Linked DNA regions of Homo sapiens: all the other regions are linked to region 1. Evidence: promoter capture Hi-C in 16 types of primary human blood cells and fetal thymus (Javierre and others, 2016). All regions are on one chromosome and are shown on one strand. Each heading gives the region's core, a stretch centred on a gene start or on the middle of the fragment in contact. The rest is flanking DNA. Distances are from core to core; before and after follow the strand shown.

Region 1 (3,118 bases), core at 409-2,908:
TCTGCCTCAGCCTCCCAAGTTGCTGGGATTATAGGCGCCCGCCACCACGCCCAGCTACTTTTTTGTATTTTTAGTAGAGACAGGGTTTCACCCTGTTAGCCAGGCTGGTCTCGAACTGCTGACCTCAGGTGATCCACCTGCCTCGGCCTCCCAAAGTGCTGGGATTATAGACGTGAGCCACCGCACCCAGACAACTCAAACTGTCTTAATTATTAAAATCTTGAATATAGCTCTTAAAAATTTTAAGAATTCACTAACAAGAATTTGTCCTGAAAGCAATTTTCCAAGCAGCAAATGGGAATTTACTAATGCAGCTAAGCTGTAGTGGAACAAGCTCTCAATCTGAAACCAGACACTCTGGGTTTTAGACTAGGTCTGACAGTGGCTATGTGACCTGAAATGAATCAGGATGTCTTCACCTGTAAAATGGGAACAATACCTATTTATCTCATTCAGTTCCTAGGAAGCTTGAATGAGACCACAGAAACTCTCTGAAATTACAAACTTGTAGTAAAGGTATCATCTATTCCTGGGAAGTGGGGGTAAATCACTGTACATGTGTATACTAGCAATTCAAAAAAGGAAAATCCCTGAACAACTTATTTTAAGATTTCCTCCACCTTACACAGGAGAGGATTAAAACACTGTCAAAAAGGTACTACCTGTGTAGTATGGGTGTGTGGCTTTTAAGAACACTGCCTTTTAAGCCTTTTGCTCTAGTTGTAAGAGGCACACGGAGACACATAAATGCAACACGTGCCATGGGTTATGTTCAAAATCACATTCAACAAGCGCCTATGTGACTGGCTATGGGAATTACTGTAGATCACTGGACCTGAAGACTCTTAAGTTTACAATACTCATGACTGTCCTGGGCCATAAAACTAAAACCTACAGCAGCAGGACAAGTTTCACTTGTAATAACTGCCTTTCAAAGTCTACGCGGATCTTTTCAGCAGCACAGTCTTTGAACACCGAGTATGAGGAGCGGTGTCTGAGTTGTGACATTTAAAAAACAAGGCCGGAGCAAACGTAGAGAGGGAGAAAGTTGTTTAAGAGAGCGCCAGTAGCAAAGCTTTGTACGACCCCAGGCACGTGGGGTGCTCGCTGCGCGTAGTCTTTCCACCGTAGGCAAGGAGATGCTTATGAGAACCTTTCTGGGGTGCTGGGGGGTTCCGTCCCGAAATGCTCAGCCCAATCCATGAGTCAGCAGCGGCGAGAGGAGGAAGCAACGGTAGGAGCAAAAGGAAGGCACCCCTCACCCTCCTTCCTTCTAATCTAGGGTAGGATTACTTTAAAACACGGAGCAAAAAGGCACTCGTCACGGCCCCATACGGCCCCGGGGCTAGTCGCCAGGGTCAAGGGTAGAGAGAGCCCAGGGTTGCCGAGGCGGAGGACTGAGGCAGGGGCAGCTGAGGTGAGAAGGAACCGAGGTTGGGTGGGCACTTACCAGAGGTCAGAGCGTGGGTGATGGCGGTGCCCCGGCCGTCCGCGGCGCTTGGCAGAAGCAGCATGATGGCGCCGGGTCTAGCCCGGTGGGCGCAGCGGCTCACGTCCCGGGCGGAGGGCGCTTAGGGTCCCCTCCAGCTCTACCTCTCACTCCGAGCCTCGCGCCTTGGCTCTAAGACGCCCAGGAACCGGCGCATGGAGACGACCAGTAAGCACTTCCGGGATGGATCTTTCGTGGTGTGGAGGCCAGTCTCACACCCTCCCACCCCCGCCAACGTGTGCGGTAACCTAGTTCTATACTGACTGAGATCCGGCTGGAGACCAAGTCGCACGAGAGAATGGTTCCTAGGCGCATCAGTTTTCCTGTAAAAAGGATTATATTCCACGTCCCAGTGCAATACATAGAACATAACCTTTAAAAGCAGTTCTTTTTATATTATCTTTAAGTTCTTACTGCTTTATGTATTAATCTGAACCTAATCAGTGATTTTCCCAGGAGCGCTATACTTTTAAGTAAAAAATGAAAATACCTGTATGAACCAGTATCGACGACTAGTATATACATTTGCGGAGAATTACGTACGTGTATTTGTGATACATTTGTGTTTAACTTGATGATGATAATAGCAGCTAATATTTGTCGTGCTATTACTAATTTACCTGCATTATATCTTTTAATACTCGCTTGGAGAAGAAACCTCTCTCTAGTGTGTTAGATTGTATTCCAAGGCCAGCAATATTTTTACCTTGTTCTAATGAAGTTTTTATTCAAGATATTCCCAATTATAGGACTCTGGGACTTAATTTTTTAATGTATAATAAAATCAATTGTATTCCTACTATATGCTTCCTTCTAAGACTGCAGTCAAAAGCAAAAACTAGCAAAAACAAACAGTGGGTAAAGGCTCACCCCCAACAGCAGTATCTGAAACAGGTTCAATAAAATAAACTTGATATGCCACTCTTTAGCAAGGACCACCAGAAATTAGTAAATTAGAAAATAACTTACTAATTTCATTATATTTTCACAATTAAAGTTTTTAAATATATTATATATATATATATGTATATTTTTTTTTGTAGAGACAGGGTCTCACTATGTTGCCCAAGGTGGTCTTGAACTCCTGGCCTCAAGGGATCCTCCTGCCTCAGTCTCCCAAAACTCTGGGATTAGAGGCGTGAGTCACTGTGCCAGGCCAATTAAATACATTTAATTGGTCTGTATATCTGCTGCATGATAAAATTGTCACTTCAAAACTGACTTTTCAAAAATTGAACTAAGGGAGGCTGAGGTGGGAAGATCGTTGAGGCCGGGAGGTGGAGGTTGCAGTGAGCTGAGATCACACCATTGCGCTCCAGCCTGGGTAACAGTGAGACCCCGTCTTTAAAAAAAAAAAAATTGAACTAATCTTCTGCCCCAAAACCTCTTCCTGATCCCTACTAATGCAACCACTGTTAAAACATGCTCCAAGGTGCAAAGTAACCTGACTCCACTTTCTTCATATTAATATATTTTTTTCCTCACACCTCCTCCCATTCAATTTTACCATTAACTCTAACATGGGTTTTTGTTTTTTTGTTGTTTTCTTTTCTGAGACAGAGGCTTGCTCTGTCGCCCAGGCTGGAGTGCAGTGGCCTGATTTCGGCTCACTGCAATCTCTGCCTCCCA
Region 2 (3,118 bases), core at 205-2,704, 4.4 Mb after region 1:
TGCACTTAAATCGCACTGATCATCACAGCATGATTCACAAATAATACCGTACAACTACAAAGATATAACACATCGCTACACATACTTTATTTGCAATTCAGTACCATGAAAACATTTCTCTAAGAGGTCAATGTAATAATCTTTTATTGATATAGGAACTCTGGCACTGAAAGCTTGAATAACCCAAGGTAATGATGTCGTCACCAAGGGAGGACAAGAATAGAACCCAAATCCCTTGACTCCCAAGCTTGTGTTTTCCATTAATTGTGCTCCTTTCTATTCATCCAAGAGCATCAAGTGTAAAAGGCTGGAGAAAGGAGTGGACACAAATGAGCCAAGTCCGCAAGGTGGAGACTGCACTGAAGGTCCTAGGAATCGCCCCTTGGCACTTTCCTTTTGTGTTGGCTGAGGAAGATGAAAGCAGCAACAACCACAAACTCCTGGGACCAAGAACTGGAACTAGGTACTGCTTGTTGTGGTAACTCTCTTCCTCATTTTAGGCCTTTCCTTTTTAACCTCTCCTTCCGGCCAAGCCTTCGCGCTCTCTTCCCCTCCCTCGGTTTCTATCCGCTCCCGTTAGCTCCACTCCGCACATTCCTGCAAGGTGTCCCCGTTAAGAGGAGGCAGCTGCGCCGCACTGGCTCTCCACCCTCCATCCGGCCCTGGCGCCCAGTCGTCAGGTGTTCGAGAGGTTCGTAGCGTCACAAGCGCTCTCCCTAGAAAGTGAGTGGCAGTCAAGCATTATAAACGTGTTTCAACTGTAAAGAGACTTAAGAGATGGGAACCGGGGCATATACCAAGTTAGCTCTGCGTGGGTCTAGGTAGCTCGTCACGACAAAGCAAAATTTAGACAAGCGTTGAGACTTTCCTTCTAGCTCCGAGTTTCACAGCTCCGCCATCCCCTGAGCAACCTCCCACTGGAGGGCGCCTTCCGGAGCGCGCGTGTTTACACTTTTGCTACACCAGGCGGAGGAAACAAGCGCTCGCTGACCCCGGGGGATTCCAAACCGTTACTCCGCCCGCCGGGGTGGGGCCAGCGCAACGGCCGAGCCTGCGCAGCCAGCCGGCTCCGGGGGCCCCGCGCACTACAAGTCCCAGAAGGCAGCTCTCCGCGGGGCGGGCAGTCGCCTTATCTGCTTCTGGCTCATTTTTACCACTGCTCTCCCCTTCCCCGGTCCCCCTGGTGTCCTTTCCACAGTTAAAGGCTACTTTCTCTTGAAGCACATGAGGAGAAGCCTTAGCAACCTCAATACCGAAGTTCTTCGCGCGCTCGCTCTTTCTGCCTCCGCCCGAACTATGCCTGAGTCCCTCACAGGAGTTGGATAGTAGAGGCGAGAGAAGGAAGTCTTTGCAGGCCAAAATTGGGACAACCTGCTTGGACTTCCGCCTCCCGGCCTCCGGAAGGCAGTGCGCACGCGCTCGCTGCGACTCCGGCGCGGTTGACTTCCGCTCCCACTGTGCTCTGCGAGCCGAATCATGGATCACACTGGTAAGGAGGCGGAGGCAGTGGGGGTCCCGGTTCCAAGCCCCCTTGGCCGGCCTGGGGCTGGTCGCACAGCAGGCAAAAGGGATTATGCTCGCCCCACAACACTAGGGTGTGGCAGTGAGAAGAAATCTCACAGATGCCTTCCTGTGCCCGGCAGGGGCCTGCGGTTTCCTGGCCTACCGTCTGGTGTGGTACCTACCTCCTCCGTGCCGGCAACAACCGCTCCTACTCTGGTTCTGCTGAGCTCCGAGCCCGGACCAGTGGGCGATGTAGGCCTTCGGGAAGGGAGAGCCCCGGCTCTGTTTTATTTAGCCCAGCTGCTCTGGCCTACGTTATGGAGACTGGCGGGTAGATTGCGGTCTCCGAGTCGCGGAATCCTCTTTACGCTGGGAGTGGACGGGCGAGAATGGGTTGGAGACTTCCTGCTGTCTCAGTCAGCTTTGGGCGGGTGCTGCAGTGGTCACCCCCTGTCGTCTCTCCGATCCTTTATGGACTAGAGGGGTGAAAGAAGGGAGTCTGATAGAGTTTTTGGAATCAAACTCGGAGCAGTTTTTCTACCTAAACCAAAAGCATGCCCCGCGCTTCGGCTGAGGTCCTTACTCATCATTTGAGGGTATTTACAAAGAGGAGTTTAAAATCAAGGCATTCTCATACTTTTCTCCAAGTAAGAGTGGCTCCACCCTTTGTTATGTATTTTCTGGCTTTTGCTTCTTTGTGGTTCTTGGATATTGAATGAGTGCTCTTGGAGTTATGTGCCCCATACATTTATAGCGACCGTATCACAAATAGAGAAAAAAAGGCTTTTTCTTGAGTATTGAGTTGTCCTCACTCATCAGATATCTACTTGGTTATATAATTAGGTGTGTATGTTTATTTATGTAGGTGTGTATGTTTATTTATGCAAGATACATGCAGATATCTATAGGTCGGGAGATGGAAGATGGAATGGTAAACGAGACGGACCAGGTCCGTGATAGAACTTCTGTTTTATGGAGGAACACAGACAATACGTTCTTTTTTTTTAAATTTATTATTTTTTTAATGTTTGCGGATTATTTTGAAGAAAATAAACGAGTGCTGTGGAGAGATTCATAGGACGAAATTTCAGAGAGGGTTGTTAGGAATGGTCTTTGTGGAAGCTAAGATCTGATGGATGAGAAGAACCCAGCCCTGGGAAAAAAGCAAGAGGAAGAGCATTTCCAGCAAGTGCGAAGGCACTGAGGTAGGAAGATACAGTGAAGTCAGCTGCAGCCTCCTAATAGCCAGAGGGTAGGAGTCCTGAAGTGAGATTGGAAAGGAGGGCAGCAGGCACATCATTCAGGTCATTGAAAGCCGTGGTAAACGTTTGAATTTTAATTTAAGTGAATATGAAGCCATTGAACAGAAGTGGAGGAGGAACACAGTCTCTTAAAAAATACAATAGGCTGTTCTATGAAGAATGGTGTAAGAGAGGGAGGTAAGAATGATGGAAAATAGCTGATTGCAGTAGACGGGAAGGGAAGGTTGGTTTGGTGAAAATGAAGGAGAATGGGCAGCTTCAGTAAATACTCTGGTGGTGTTTGAAGGAATGTGAGAGAAAGGAGAAATGCCTAGGCTTTTGGTTTGAGCAACTAGGTAGGGTCCATTATTGAG
Region 3 (3,118 bases), core at 569-3,068, 3.8 Mb after region 1:
AACATCTGAAAGATAGTTAAAAACTGTAGTTATATCTGTTTTAGTCTGAGAGTATAATTAGCACATGTAAAAATTTCCAAGGAGATCTTACTAGTTTTGTACTTTGATCTTTGTTCTGGCTTATAAGTTGGCTAGTTTTATTGGTCACTCAATTAATGATGATGTCTCTGGTAAATACACATAAGCTACTAATGTGGTCATTTAGCCCCCCACGGAAGTCAGAAGATTGGACTAAGTGTCCACTTAAAGGTGTAGCGAATTCTAATACTAGTATTTAATCAGTTGTGACTAAACTATCTAAATTTAACTCATATTAAAGACTTGGATAAAAATGAGAAAAAGTGTGCAAAAAATGTTTTCTATCTTTTTATTCTCAATAATTGGCACAGTGGTCAAAAAATGGAACTAAACGTTTCTGAATGAATGGAAAAGGCTTTATGGAGCTATTAAAGGATAAATTATTATTTGTAACATATTGTACAATATCTGGATCTAAAGTTGAATTTTTTTTCCCCATTTCCGGTGTCCCCCGATAAAAAAAATCACCACTAAGGCATTTGGTAAAAACTTTAAAATAGTTTAACTTTTAAAAACAAGGTTTAGCTGAAAGCAGATCTCACAGTTTGTGTACTGGAGAGGGGTAAAGCAGTATGTCAATCTCTTGCCAGCTCTTTTTTTTTTTTTTTTTTAAGAGAAAAGTTTTTTAGTTTTCTAGGAGGAGTTAGACATAAATATCTCAAAACAATTTTAAATAATTAGGTGAACTTCACAGATTTTTCTTTTTTGTCAAGAAATTACATGTTGGAGTAGAGTTTATATTTTCTATTCTAGTACACGATGACCCTCCATTGTAAAAAAAAAAAAAAAAAAAAAAAGCATACACAAAGTAGCAGAGACATTCATTTCTTTGAGTCACTAATAATTTCTGAAAGATGATAAATTCAAATCCTGTCCTTTTTCCTCAGGGAAAAAATTAAGCATTCTGTTGGCTCTCCTCTGAATTATTTTAATAAAAAATAGAATGCTTTATTACTATTTGTGAACATAGAAAGTAAGTATTTGATTACACGGGAGGACTACTTTATAATTTCACTTCACGGATTCAAATGGGGAATTCTCAAGAATTTTAAACTCGATTTCAACATGTGGGGGCTTATTTTGGATTTCTTGATTTGTTACGCGGCTTTCAGGTATATTTAAAAATCCAAGAAATGCAGGAGGTTTTAAAGAAATAACTAGCTGTGTGATTTCTGGCTCTGTCCAAAGGTTTGCTTTTACAGATTTCTTACTAATGTAGGTTTTCCTCATCTTAATTCTAAGCATATATTTAGTGATCTAAAGTTAGAAAATCTAAAGCACAATTTAAATGATTAAACACTAAAGGTTCAAAGGGGGGAAAAAGCTTAATCATGCCTTTGTAATGTGAATGGTAAAGACACCAATTATTGACTAGATGCAGCCGACTGTGAATGGACAGCCATGTTTAAAGAGAAGTTAACTATAAAGCAGGGAAGCGTCTCTGGTGAGTCAGAGAATTCGTAACTTGAGGAACTCCTAGTGGAAATGAAGTGGAAAGACAGTTTCTTTCATCAATGAGAAAACGTCTAGAAGGAAAAGAGGGTTAATAAAACTCACCAGAGAAACTTACTGATAATGATTCACAAATTAAATCAGTTTACGTCATACATTACACCCTTTGTATTACGTTAACCAACGAGCATACTAATCAGTATGGAAAATGCCGCTTTAACTTGCCTCAATTTCGTAATCGCCCGCCCCCGCCCCCGCTTTGTAAATTCTCTAGACTCCAGCTTCTCGCTTGCTCACAGTCCATCCCCCAGCCTCACTCTTCCTGGCACTTAGGTGGCGGCTCAACAAACTTAGGTGAACTGAACAGAGCTGACAAGGCAATCTCAAGTTGCTGTCCTGGGAGTGGTGAGGCAAGGCACAAGAGAAAGGACTTCTAGTTCTTCCCACTGCCAGTGCAGCCCCCAGCATCACTTTCGACCCCTTCGTGCCTGGGGCCGTGATTTGTGGGTGATCAAGTCCCTCGCTAGCCTGCAGTACTTCCGCTGGTGCAGTCATCTCCTTCCCCTCGCACTAAAACAATACCCTGGCCTCCTGCCAAACTCTTGAGCAGCGAGCAACTCTGGCTGTTTATGGCCCGGATTGGGTGCTGCAAGAGGCTTGGGCCGCTCTAAGTGTTAGCAGAGGCCCGGAGGAAAAGAAGAGGCCCAAGCTTTAAAACACTCCCTTCCTCCGCCCCCTCCCTTTTGTCCCAGACACCAAAACAAACGAGCTGATACACGTGTCCCTATGACTCTTGTTTACTATCAAGACTGCGCTGTGCGAGCGCCTCTGGGATACGTAGTCCAGCTCTTCCCCGGCCAGCAGTCTCCCACAGCCAAGGACCAAGGCTTGAGACTACGAACCCACAATCCATTTCGGGGACAAAGTTTGGCTTGGGTCCCCGGACTCTCGGCAATAGTCCAATCCGAAGCACTTACTCTTGTGATTGACATGCCATCTTCTCCAGTAAACACAACACAAAAGTCAATACATGCCCGCCCCCCGAGACGGACCACGGTACCACCCAATGGGAAAGGGGAAGAACCGAATGGCAGTTCTGCAGTCCAATAAGAGGGCGAAAGAGCTGGGCGGGGCTCAACCCCCAGGGGGTTGAGGGGAGGGGGAAGACGAAGCTTGAAAGACTTGGTAATGGCGACGGGTTTGGTAAGTAGGAAAGTTTCGGTTGAGGAGTAAGAGCTGCCGCGGGAGCAGTAACCCGCGCGGGGGAGGCCGACGTCGGTCGGAGAGGGGGTACGAGAGCTGCTGGTGGTGTTGTCGTGGCCGGAGCGGCCCGCGCCTGGGCTGCCGGCACTTCGCGGCAGGTTTGTTGTCTTTCAGTTAGGGAAGAGGTGGGGGTGGGGAAGGGAGGGGCAGGAGCGCGGGGGATTGGGCAGACTGGAGGGCTCGGGTCCTCGTTCCTTCTTCTCGGAGGGTTGCCCTTGGGGTGGGGGCAGTTAACCGTTCGATTGGTGCCCGCGGCGAGCCCACCGGAGCAGCGTCTCCCGCGAGCTCACCTGGGCTTCGGGGCGGCGGCGCTAGGGGGTCTCGG

The links. Contacts are between HindIII fragments. The CHiCAGO score rates a contact against its expected background, and 5 or more counts as called.
Region 2: the fragment with the promoter of CBLL1 here is called in contact with the fragment with the promoter of DNAJC2 in region 1 in 2 of 17 cell types (total CD8 T cells and activated CD4 T cells); the score reaches 7.1 in total CD8 T cells.
Region 3: a contact is called between a fragment that was not itself captured here and the fragment with the promoter of DNAJC2 in region 1, in 1 of 17 cell types (naive CD8 T cells). The highest score is 6.2, in naive CD8 T cells.

What each region holds. Positions count from the first base shown.
Region 1 is chr7:103,343,109-103,346,226 of GRCh38, forward strand. It overlaps DNAJC2 (DnaJ heat shock protein family (Hsp40) member C2), which reads right to left and starts at 1,659. Exons shown (of 17, transcript NM_014377.3): 1 at 1,451-1,659. The coding sequence starts at 1,514. It also overlaps a transcript of PMPCB not described here. RefSeq lists an enhancer at 1,602-1,841. The HindIII fragment of the contact is 5,590 bases long and covers 1,074-3,118 here.
Region 2 is chr7:107,742,688-107,745,805 of GRCh38, forward strand. CBLL1 (Cbl proto-oncogene like 1) reads left to right here and starts at 1,455. Exons shown (of 6, transcript NM_024814.4): 1 at 1,455-1,489. The coding sequence starts at 1,477. CBLL1-AS1 (CBLL1 antisense RNA 1) reads right to left here and starts at 1,894. Exons shown (of 2, transcript NR_144537.1): 1 at 1,686-1,894; 2 at 66-716. RefSeq lists enhancers at 44-563, 564-1,082, 1,180-1,399, 1,750-1,929 and a silencer at 940-1,139. The HindIII fragment of the contact is 5,122 bases long and covers 246-3,118 here.
Region 3 is chr7:107,166,295-107,169,412 of GRCh38, forward strand. It overlaps HBP1 (HMG-box transcription factor 1), which reads left to right and starts at 2,709. Exons shown (of 11, transcript NM_012257.4): 1 at 2,709-2,891. RefSeq lists silencers at 2,237-2,810, 2,829-2,928 and an enhancer at 2,359-2,518. The HindIII fragment of the contact is 837 bases long and covers 1,401-2,237 here.